3 separate regions of the Homo sapiens genome follow, and regions 1 and 3 are each linked to region 2. The links are contacts of gene promoters, found by promoter capture Hi-C in blood cells and fetal thymus (Javierre and others, 2016). All regions are on one chromosome and are shown on one strand. Each heading gives the region's core, a stretch centred on a gene start or on the middle of the fragment in contact. The rest is flanking DNA. Distances are from core to core; before and after follow the strand shown.

The links. Contacts are between HindIII fragments. The CHiCAGO score rates a contact against its expected background, and 5 or more counts as called.
Region 1: a fragment that was not itself captured here is called in contact with the fragment with the promoter of CEBPZOS in region 2 in 1 of 17 cell types (non-activated CD4 T cells); the score reaches 5.8 in non-activated CD4 T cells.
Region 3: a fragment that was not itself captured here is called in contact with the fragment with the promoter of CEBPZOS in region 2 in 1 of 17 cell types (monocytes); the score reaches 6.1 in monocytes.

What each region holds. Positions count from the first base shown.
Region 1 is chr2:37,923,654-37,927,413 of GRCh38, forward strand. It overlaps RMDN2 (regulator of microtubule dynamics 2), which reads left to right and starts at 1,634. Exons shown (of 11, transcript NM_001170791.3): 1 at 1,634-1,772. RefSeq lists a silencer at 1,449-1,688. The HindIII fragment of the contact is 1,233 bases long and covers 668-1,900 here.
Region 2 is chr2:37,194,239-37,197,876 of GRCh38, forward strand. CEBPZOS (CEBPZ opposite strand) reads left to right here and starts at 2,258. Exons shown (of 5, transcript NM_001322374.2): 1 at 2,258-2,282. It also overlaps a transcript of SULT6B1 not described here and the pseudogene RPL31P16. RefSeq lists a silencer at 2,092-2,231. The HindIII fragment of the contact is 5,744 bases long and covers 542-3,638 here.
Region 3 is chr2:37,947,498-37,950,834 of GRCh38, forward strand. The region is part of intron 2 of RMDN2 (regulator of microtubule dynamics 2); the gene reads left to right. It overlaps RMDN2-AS1 (RMDN2 antisense RNA 1), which reads right to left. Exons shown (of 4, transcript NR_102712.1): 4 at 2,837-3,040. Among named protein-coding and RNA genes, the nearest start is that of RMDN2, 24 kb to the left of the region's middle. The HindIII fragment of the contact is 2,386 bases long and covers 774-3,159 here.

The DNA of each region.
Region 1 (3,760 bases), core at 34-2,533, 730 kb after region 2:
AAATAGGAGTGAAGTGGGTTTGTAGAAGGTAATATTTTACTAGTTCCAAATCTGAGAGGTTAAAGATTAATCTGCTCTTTTTCCAAATACAACTTAGGTTTTTGCTCTTGTTTTTTGAGACAGAGTCTCATTCTGTCCCAGACTGGTGAGCAGTGGCCCGATCTCGGCTCACTGCAACTTCTGCCTCTGAGGTTTAAGCAATTCTCATGCCTTAACCTCCCGAGCAGCTGGGACTACAGAAGTGCGCCACCACACTCGGCTAATTTTTGTATTTTTAGTAGAGATGGTGTTTCATCATATTGGCCAGGCTGGTCACGAACTCCTGGCCTCAAGTGATCCGTCCGCCTCAGCCTCTCAAAGTGCTGGGCTTACAGTCGTGAGCCACTGCGCCCTGCTACAAATTACTTTTAATAAAATGACCATGGCCAGGCTTACTTATTCTTCAATGCGGCTTGCCTGAAGCTCAAAAAATCATCTTAAAGAGCCTATAGAATCCCTGAATCCCTATCCGTAAACAGTAGTATATGGATTGCAAAACAAGCCTTCTGGATTCTTCATGGCTTTATGGGTGTTGTCTGCTGTTGCTGTTTTGAGAAAGAGTGTACCCATTTTTAATTCTGCTCAATATATTGGTGGGAAGTTTAGAGATTAATGTTATGCAAACCTAAGCTTGAGGCAGTAATACTCAAGGTGCGGACAATACAGAAGCAGTGTATGTACTGTTTTGTTTTTGTTTTTGAGACGCTCTATCACCCAGGCTGGAGTGCGGTGGCGCGATCTCGCCTCACTGCAACCTCTGCCTCCGGGTTCAAACGATTCTCCTGCCTCATCCTCCCAAGTAGCTGGGATTACAGGCGTCCACCACCACGCCCGGCTAATTTTTTGTATTTTTAGTAGAGACAGGGGTTTCGCCACGTTGGCCATACTGGTCTCGAATTCCTGACCTCAGGTGATCCGCCTGCCTCAGCCTCCCAAAGTGCTGGGATTACAGGCGTGACCCACCGCGCCCGGCCCAGTTTTTAAGAGCGTATTTAGCAGAATTAGTTTCATTATACAAACCACAGAAAGCTGGGTAAAACCTTAAATGTCAGGCATCTGAAAAAACAGCGGCTTTCATCTAAAGGCAACTCGGAATGGCGGGGAGAAGGAAGAGGCTGTCAAAATTGCTCATTAAAAGAAAACGTGAGATAAAGCTATGAACACGGGGCTGCAGATATCAGTAATTAGTGCAAGGCGTCTGCCTTTAATTCAGTCGTGAGGAGTAAAGTGCAAGGTTGTGCCTAGAAAGGGCACAGAAAAAGGTTTAACTAGGGGAGAGGGAGTGGGTTTGAGAGCCGGAACGAAGCGAGCTGGCGGTGGGCGTGCGGAGTGGCAGCAACGCGAGAGGGAACGCGCTGGGGCTAGCGCGGAGGCCCAGAGCCCAGGCGGGGGAAAAGGTGCCGACCGGCTTCGAAGGGAGGCGACGGCCGAGACACACGGTCCGGCGCGAGCCAGGCGCCCCGCGACGTGCAATTTTATTTTGCAAAAGGTGCACCCAACGCCAGTCCCGGTAGAGTTGAACCCACCACGAGAGGGAGAGGGGGCGGGAGCGGGGGGCCGAGCGGCCGCGGGCTCCTCCCCCGGCGCCTCCGCTATCTGGGTCAGGACGCGACGGCCGCGGCGCGGGACCTTAGGACCCGCGGGCTCCAGGGCTACTGTCCGTCCGCCACTGCGCGCCAGCAGGTCCTGGTCTCCGCTCTCCAACAGCTGAAAGGCCGGCGCAGTGAACACAGGTGCGTGCGCAGTCTGGGAGGGGGCTGCTCAGCCGCTGGGGGCCGGACCGCGCCGGGGACTTGCGGAGGGAAGCGGAAATACTTGCGGTGGGGGCGACTGCACTTCCGGGTCGGTGTGTCCCTGGCGAAGCTTGAGCCTGCTAGCCAGCGGTGCTCTGCGTTCCCGGGGCTGGAGCAGCGGCCCATAGTGGCTTCCCGGGTTCATCCCTCGCTGACCCTGCGCCACGGAAGCCCTAGCCCCGGAGGTCGCTGGTATTTCCTCGCACGCGGACCCTTCTGGGGTGCGTGGGGAACAGGCAGTTTGCTGCCTCGGCCCGGCTGGTCCCTGCAAACCCCAAAGAATTTCAACAGAGACACTTGCTGGGCTCTCGCTCGGCTTTCAGCCTTGCGCAAACATTTTGTTTTTGTTTGTGTGGGGTTTTTTTTGCTCTCAGACTCCGTCTGTGCCTATTTCACACAAAAACGAAGGCCGGATTATCAGTGCTGCCAACATAGGGGAATGAGGCAAACACTTGGGAGCCCTAAATTTAAAATAAATTATAAAATACAAAAAAACCATGAAAACCTGATGAAATGAACAATAGAATTCACTTCGAAAGTACCAGGTTTTCCAGGACGCTGTAGGAAATCTGATCACTAGTTCAAGGTCTCAGTGCAATTCTCTTAGGAAACTTAAACCTCGGGCTTTTTTGTAATGTCTCTTTATCCTTGCAAAATTTGTCATACCTTCCCCGAGTTTATTAGAGTTATGCATTTTATATTTTTCTCCTCTAAGGGTCTGCTGATGAAGTTAATGAATATCTGTGCTAGATTTATGGTGAAAGCATTATAATTAATTTAGTAAAGCATAATTTCTACATCAAAAAATTAATTTTAAATAAAACTAGAACATGGAAATGAAATGTTTCTTCAGACATTTCTTCAGAAAACATTTCATATTCTATTTTCTTTAGAGTCAACATTTTGATGTCATTTTAGAATACTTGATTCTCATCTCAACCTTTAATATTACACAATAATACACATTAATTAAGTGCCATAATCTATATTAAAATGTCATTTTCCATTGTTATTTACTAGCACCTTACAAATTGAAACGTAACATAATACTTTGTATCTGATTATTAAAATATTAGAGTTTTAAAATCTGTTTGGTAAAGTTTTTAATTACTATATTTTTTTATACTACAAGTGTATACTATTAACATAATTAGAAGTATGAAAGCTAACAAGGCTGGAGGCAGTGGCCCATGCTGCTTATCCCAGCACTTTGAGAGGTGGAGGCAGGATTGCTTGGGCCCAGGAGTTCGGGACCAGCCTAGCAACATAGGGAGACTCACTCTCTACAAGTAATGTAAAAATTAGCCGGGCGTGGTTGCCCACGCTTGTGGTCCTAGCTACTAGGGAGGCTGAGGCAGGAGGATGACTTGAGCCCAAGTGGTCGAGGCTACAGTGAGCAGTGATTGTACCACTGCACTCCAGCCTAGGTGACAGAGCGAGACTCTAAAAAAAAAAAGCTATGTAAATGACTTCATACAACCTTTGAAATTATTCTGAAGGCAAGCAAGTACTCTGATGTATTTTGTACATTATTTTTAATGTGTCATTTTTCAAATTATCAGTGTTGAAGCACATTTGTTTTATGCTGTTATAAAACTCAAACATAGCTTGAACTGTTAGTCTTTAATTGTGTTTGTTTAAAACATCAGCTCCGTTGATTCTATTTTTTTCTAGTTAATTTTTGTGGTTCTGAAATAATATTTCAGCTTTGAGCATCTCTGTTCAGTCAGTACTCTCCTTCACCTCCTTGTTGATGCTTTCCAAATCTCCCACATGTTGTGGGTGCATCCAAGAGTTAGGAACAGGTTGTCAAAGGTGACAGTTTTCACTTCCCAGTTGGGTGATCACTGGGTAAGTGACTTGACACCTGTGTGCCTCAGTTCACTTATCTGCAAAATAATAATAGGACCTGCATGGAAGAGATGATT
Region 2 (3,638 bases), core at 1,008-3,507:
TGACTAATTTTTTGTATTTTTAGTAGAGACAGGGTTTCACCATATTGGCCAAGCTGGTCTTGAACTCCTGACCTCAAGTGATCTGCCCATCTTGGCCTCCCAAAGTGCTGGGGTTACAGGCATGAGCCACCGTGCCTGGCTGACTATCTGTAGATTTTTGAAAGTGGTAACAGGTACATAGGTAATCAAAGTACAGAGCTTATTTGGTGAATCTTCATCCTCATTACATCCTCTGGACAGCTGCACGCGGATACGGTACGGGACATTCCTTATTCCTTTGGCAAAGACAACTTTATTGAGCCTGGTATCAATGCACACATCTGGAGTTCCCATCTCCTTCATTGCAAAATTTCCGGATCTCTTTGAGTGCCTGAGGGACATGCTTCTTGAAGCCCACTCTGTGGATGTGCTTGTGAATGTTGGTGTATTCTTGGGTCATCACCTCGTTGATGGCAGAATGGTCCATTTTCTTCTTGCCACTGTTCTTTGCAGGAGCCATTCTGCTAGGCCCAAGTTGGTAAAGCTTGTTATCATTTCTTTAAGCTTTTTTTCTCCTCTTTTCTTTTTTTCAATCTGAACCATTCCAATGACCTTTTCTTCTTTCTCCTTCCTTCCTCCCTCCCTCCCTCCCTCCCTCCCTCCCTTCCTTCCTTCCTTCTTTCCTTCCTTCCTTCCTTCCTTCCTTCCTTCCTTCCTTCCTTCCTTCCTTCCTTCCTTCCTTCCATTTTTGAGACACAGTCTTACTCTGTCGCCCAGGCTGGAGTGCAGTGGCACGATCTTGGCTCACTTTAACCTCTGCCTCCTGGGTTCAAGCAACTCTCCTGCCTTAGATTTCCGAATAGCTGGGATTACAGGCATGCTCCACCTCACCCAGCTAATTTTCATATTTTTAGTAGAGATGGGGTTTCTCCTTGTTGGCTAGGCTGGTCTTGAACTCCTGACCTCAGGTTATCTGCCCACCTTGGCCTCCCAAAGTGCTGGGATTACAGGTGTGAGCCACCGCACCAAGCCCCAATAGCTTTTTCATCTTGCTTTGTCATCCTGGTACTTTTAACACTGATATTCTGGTATTTCAAACCAATGTAGTGGAGCCTTGCTATATGGTCTGAAAGTTTTTGTTCTCCCTAAATTCATATGTTTTTCACAATTTATGATGCTTTAGTTACACAGATGAACCACATGGGCTGGACTAGGGGTGGGGCGGGTGTTAGGAAAATTGGGGCAATCACAGAGCACCTTGCAGAGGCACTTCCTTTACTTGGCGTGGACAGAGTTAGCTCCAGCTATCACCCCTTCTCTAAAACCTTTACAGATTCCTCGGATTAGAAGCAAGGCCCTTATCATTGTGTACTTTCCATCAGTTATTTGTGGTAAATACCCCTAACTAGACTAGAACTTCGATGAAGGTAGATCTGTGCCTGTTTTGGGTGTTCCAGGCTTTGTCTTGCACACGGTACTTCAATATACTTTTATATTCTTTTTCTCTTCTCTGTTTCCATGTCCCCTTCGCGCTTTCTCAAGTGTTACTTTGCAAACGAATTCTTTAGGGATCTGGCTAAAATGCAGTTTCAGATTCAGTAGTTCTGCATTTTTTTTTTTTTGAGACAAAGTCTCACTCTGTCGCCCAGGCTGGAGTGCAGTGGTGCGATCTCAGCTCACTGCAACCTCCGCCTCCCGGGTTCAAGCGATTCTCCTGCCTCAGCCTCCCCGGTAGCTGGGACTACAGGCGCATGCCACTACGACCAGCTATTTTTTTTTAAACGTATTTTTAGTAGAGACGGGGTCTCACCGTGTTAGCCAGGATGGTCTCGGTCTCCTGATGTCGTGATCCTCCCATCTAGGCCTCCCAAAGTGCTGGGATTATAGGCGTGAGCCACCGCGCCCGGCCTAGTTCTTCATTTCTAACAAGTTTTCAGGTGATGCTTATGTTGGTAGTCCTCTGAGACTATCACACTTTAAGTTTCAGGGTGTTAGAAAAACGACCCAGAACAGGCTACACGTAGTCAGTTTCCTGGGTTTAAATGTGAATTCTGATTTTACTAACTGCGATTGTGGGCAGTGTAAGCCTCTTGCTTTCTCCGTAAAATGAGATACACTCAGCACCTGTTGCATGTGTTATTGCGAACATTCCGTAAAATAATGTACATAGAGGGCAGTCAGGTTCGGGTCGCGGTCAGAGTACAATTAATAGTAATTACGAATGTGGGGGCGGAGCCGACAACGGAAGGGGTGGAGCGTCGCCAACCGTTGCGCATGCGCAGTCCCCCTTGAACGCACCTCAGGTAAGACTCTGGCGAGTGGCTTCCCATGGGCGGTCGGATTTCGGGGTCCCTAGTGCGACGAGAGTGGGGCGGTCTTCTGCGTGGGGCCTCGTCACAGTTCTGGGGGCATGTGGAGGATAGTCAGGTGTCACTGCCTTAATTCACTGGAGGCGAGTGTTTCCGGGTCGCTAGGCGGCCGTGGTCTGGCGGCCGGGCCGTGCTCCGTGCGTGCCCGCGCGTGTCGCCTGCAGGCCCGGGCCTAGCGTTCCGCGGGCTAGGGGAGAGCTGAGGGCAGCCGAGGGCACCAGGGAACCGGGGGAAGCGGGAGCTGGGTGGGACCGCGGCAGGAGCCGGGAGCCGGGGGAGCGGAGGCGGCCAGCTCTCGGCCTCTGTTGAAAAGTCGTCCTCTGCACAGCTAGGCTGGGAGAGACGTTGCTGCTTGAAACCGCGTAGCCTGCAGACGCTAAGCTGGGAGGCCGCCCCGATTCCCTGGAGCGCATCCCGGGATAAGGGGCTTCCGACCCAGCATTGCACATTTGGCTTGAGCTTGTGTCCCCGAGTCAGCGTCTCAGCCCCGTGTGATGTTAACTGCATGACACACAGCCCTGCGCCGAATCTGTCAGAGGCGGCTTCGTGTTAAACTTCACCTAAACTTCCCGGAATGATGCCTTTCCCTGTGCCGAGAAGGCAGGCGCTGGTCTGCCGTGTCTCCCTTGCCGCAGCTAGTAAACCTCACTTCTTTGTGGGTGGACAGGTGTATCCCTGGTGGTCTGTAGCAAAGGAACTTGAAGTTTTATCAGCCTCCTGAAGCCGAGAGCCTCAGTGCAAAACGTATATGTATTTTTAAAAAGGTAAATACTTTGTTGTACGGTGTTATTTGGAGGCAGCTATGCTCACCACTATACACCAAGGCAGCCGTACAGTATTATTCGCACTTTATTTTCTTTTCTTTTAACCCTGGCCTACAGATGGACTTTATTTCTTAGCACCACCCTCTCTTAAAACAAAATTTTACTTCGATTCCTTGAATAATGGAACTGGCTGCAGGCGGTCTTTGTTCATTCCTTGAACATTAAAAATAACCCCAAGAGGCCGGGCGTGGCGGCACACGCCTGTAATACCAGCACTTTGGGAGGCCGAGGCGGGAGGATCACTTGAGGTCGGAAGTTAGCCTGGCCAACATGGTGAAACCTCATCTCTACTAAACATACAAAAAATTAGCCAGACGTGGTGGCACACGCCTATAATCCCAGCTACTCGGGAGGCTGAGGCAGGAGAATCACTTGAACCCGGGAGACGGAGGTTGCAGTGAGCCAGGATCGCACCACTGCACTCCTGCCTGGGAGACAGCAAGACCCAGTCTCAAAAAAATAAAAA
Region 3 (3,337 bases), core at 717-3,216, 750 kb after region 2:
GTCATCTGAGTAACAAACTACAAACAGGGAACTTATGTGGAGAGTTTAATGTTGTAATGAAAGGAAATACAACAGTTATCCTGGTGCTAATTTAAAAATGAATGTTGCTGTTACTGTCCACAATCAGGCACATTTGATAAACTATAAAAACAACTAAATTAATGTAATGAATTGAATAGTTTGTATTATTATTGAAGAATGATACTACACTCAGATCAGCTAAAGATGTGCATTTTTCAATAGCTGAATTCAGAGTACTTCACGATATTTGTTTTGAATAATGTAGAAAAACTTAAATTTGTCAATTCAAGTTAACTCAGTCAATTTTTAGTTTGGGGCATGTTCTTTGTGTTAAGGATTCAGTCCCAGTCAGGGTTCTCCCCTTGTGCCCCCTACTTCTCCCCGTGTGTAATGTAGATTCTCTGAAGAGACTTGTCATCTAGGTACCAGGAGGGGGACATTCAGTCCTAGTATTGTTCACTGTCTTTTCTAGACTCCAGCTTAGATAGGCAGCTGCTGTGAGGTACCTCAGAAGACGCTTCTGCCTTGACTCTGGGGGTCGTCATGACCCGTATGTTCTGGAACACAGCTACTCAAATTGTGGTCTGTGGACCAGCAACATCAGCATCCAGTCTTGCCTGTGAGAGTGTGGGAAATGCATGTTCTTAGGACATACCCCGGACCTAGCGAATCAGAATGTCTGGGAGCAGTGCTCAGGAATCTGCATTTTAAGAAGCTCTGTGGGTGACTCTTATACACCCTAACATTTGAGAAGCTTTGTTCTAGAAGATTTTCTAACATCCACATGAGCAATCATGATGAAATTTTTGTTGTAATGAGTGGTAATTATGGTTACAGATAAACAAAAGGTTCATTGGGCACAGTGAGTATAATGATGGAATACTGACCTAGGTGAGAATAGAGTGGCTGTTGCAGAAAAGGAGGAGGGTTGGGTGGCCATAGGGCATGATAAAAGCAGAAGGTACCTGGGGTCATGGAATTGATAATAAAGAGAATTGGGAATGAATTGAAGGACGAACATGTTTTAGATGCTTGTCATTATAAGGGGTTACTATTTGCTTTTGGGCTAAGTCTAATTTTGGTTCTCTTAAAAAGCCAAAAGGAGGCAATTTGCAGACATTTAGAGGGTTAGGTAAGTTCTTCACCTAGAACGATATTAATCAGCTTCTAGATATTTCCTGTACTGGTATGAGATTTCTTTTCTGATGTCTGAGCAGATCTGGATCTTCTTCCTCATCCCCCAAATGCGCACACACCTAAACACCGTTTTTTGTGTCTGCATAATCATAGATTTGCTTGAATAAGGTCGGGGGAGTGATCTGACCTCTTTATTACCTCGACTGAGCAGCAGTGATTGACAGTGTTGAGATTTAGTTACAAATAATTATTTCCTTTGGGGTAGCTCAGTGAGCAGATGCTTCTTTTAGAGGCCATTGGTGGGAGTGTTAAACAACAAGCTGGCCCAATTTTTCAAAGAAAAATTTTTTATAGAAACTTTATAAGCATTACGTATTATGTTCTTGCAATGTGCAAAAGAGATCCTTTTGGAAAATGACAATCAGACCTTAGTGCGGCTTAGGAACAAAAGACAGTAGTCTCACAAGAGAGGGAAAATGTAATAGATTGCTACAGAGACAGACAGTCCTCCTTGGGCTTCTTGTGCTCCCAGACATCTTGCTACATGAGCCATACATGTAAGGCCCTGATCATTCTTTATGTGGGCCATTTTTCAGGGTTCTGGTGAGCAACCTTGAAGAATGAGTTACTGTTTCCCTTCAGGACCAAGAGCAGGTTTAGCAGATTTGCTTACTACTTGCTATAGAAGTGGTAGATCATCTAAGCTCAGCGTTCTTTCCTGTAACACAATCCACTGTGAAGGCAAGTGTCCTTGGGCCCTCTGCATTGCCCCTGTGGCAATGTGGGACAAAGGAGAACTGATGTAAATGTCCTGGTGATTATGCTGCTTTGCTATGCTGTAAGTAACATAAGTCTTCTGTCTCTAACCCACGAATCTCATGTCTTCTGCCAGCATCCATGATACAGTAAGAGATTACTTTATTAGTTTGTATGTAAACTAAAATCAAATTACAAATCCGACCATTGTATGGTGAACGTTAGAGAGCTTTGGGTCTCTTAAAAGGAATTTGTTCAAGGGTTTCCTGCAGTAGGGTGTTAGGAAGGGAGCAAAGGCTAGAGGCGGTAGTAGTATTTAGGATCAGGAAATTGCACAGTAAATAAAAGTATTTGAGGGGGTGTTTCATGTCATAGGTAAGTATACACATACACGTATACCTGTTATGGGGACAATAGCCCAAATTGGTTTAGATAAGAAAGGACAGTGTTTCTTTTCTAATAACTCTATTAACCTTGCATTTAGGTGAGTATCAGTTGTTCTGAGGAGTGATAAATAGTGCCACAGCATATCCCCGTAATCTGTGCAAATGGCCCAAGCAGTCAGATGGCATACTTTACTGCCAAGGTGAACGATGCTTGTTTCCTTTGTGGTGGCAATGACATTTGCTACTTATTAAACTTTTTTTCCCTTCTCAATGTATCTTTAGGCCAAAGTCTCTAACATTTGCTTTTCCGTATCACTGAAGGATGCAAAAATCTGGGGTAAAGAATGTTCAAGTGAAAGAAGAAGGAGTTAGTAGTACAGGGGTGTGGAAGGCAGCTGGTGAGAGAGATGGTCCAAGGTGAGAGAGATGGTCCAAGGTAAAGGATTGTACAGCTGTCATATATGTTATTGTCCTTATCCAGCTGTTTTCCCACCCCTGGATTTGTTGGATGACTCCTCCAACAGTGAAGGTAGAAACACATTCCACAGCCATGTGAATTCCAACTTCGGAGAAAGGTGAGCTACAGAACAGTTCTAATATAAACTGATGTCATGAGATTCTAGAGTCTGCTGTCATCACATTCTGTGTTATTGCCATGTTAACTCCACATGCAGCTTGAGCATTCAGTCTTCTGACCTGTTCCACCTCTACAGGGCATTTTATGGCTTAAGGATGACGGCCTAGAAGGGAAGGGAGAGACTTACTTTGGATTAAATTTACAATGGGAAAGTGCTTAAGGTAAGCCTTAGAAAAAAACTTCAACATGTGCTAAAAGAACATTGAAAATATTCATAAACGAAGCTTTAGTGCTCTCCTTTGTTTCCCATAATAACTGGATATCCTGGACTGTCCAGATATTCACTTGAAACATTCTCCCCAGAGAGATTGTGCTTCATCCATGGTTAATATTTTAAAATACAATTAGTCAACAGAATATAAGTTTATTCTCCTTAACTCATTTAAATACAGTAGTTAGT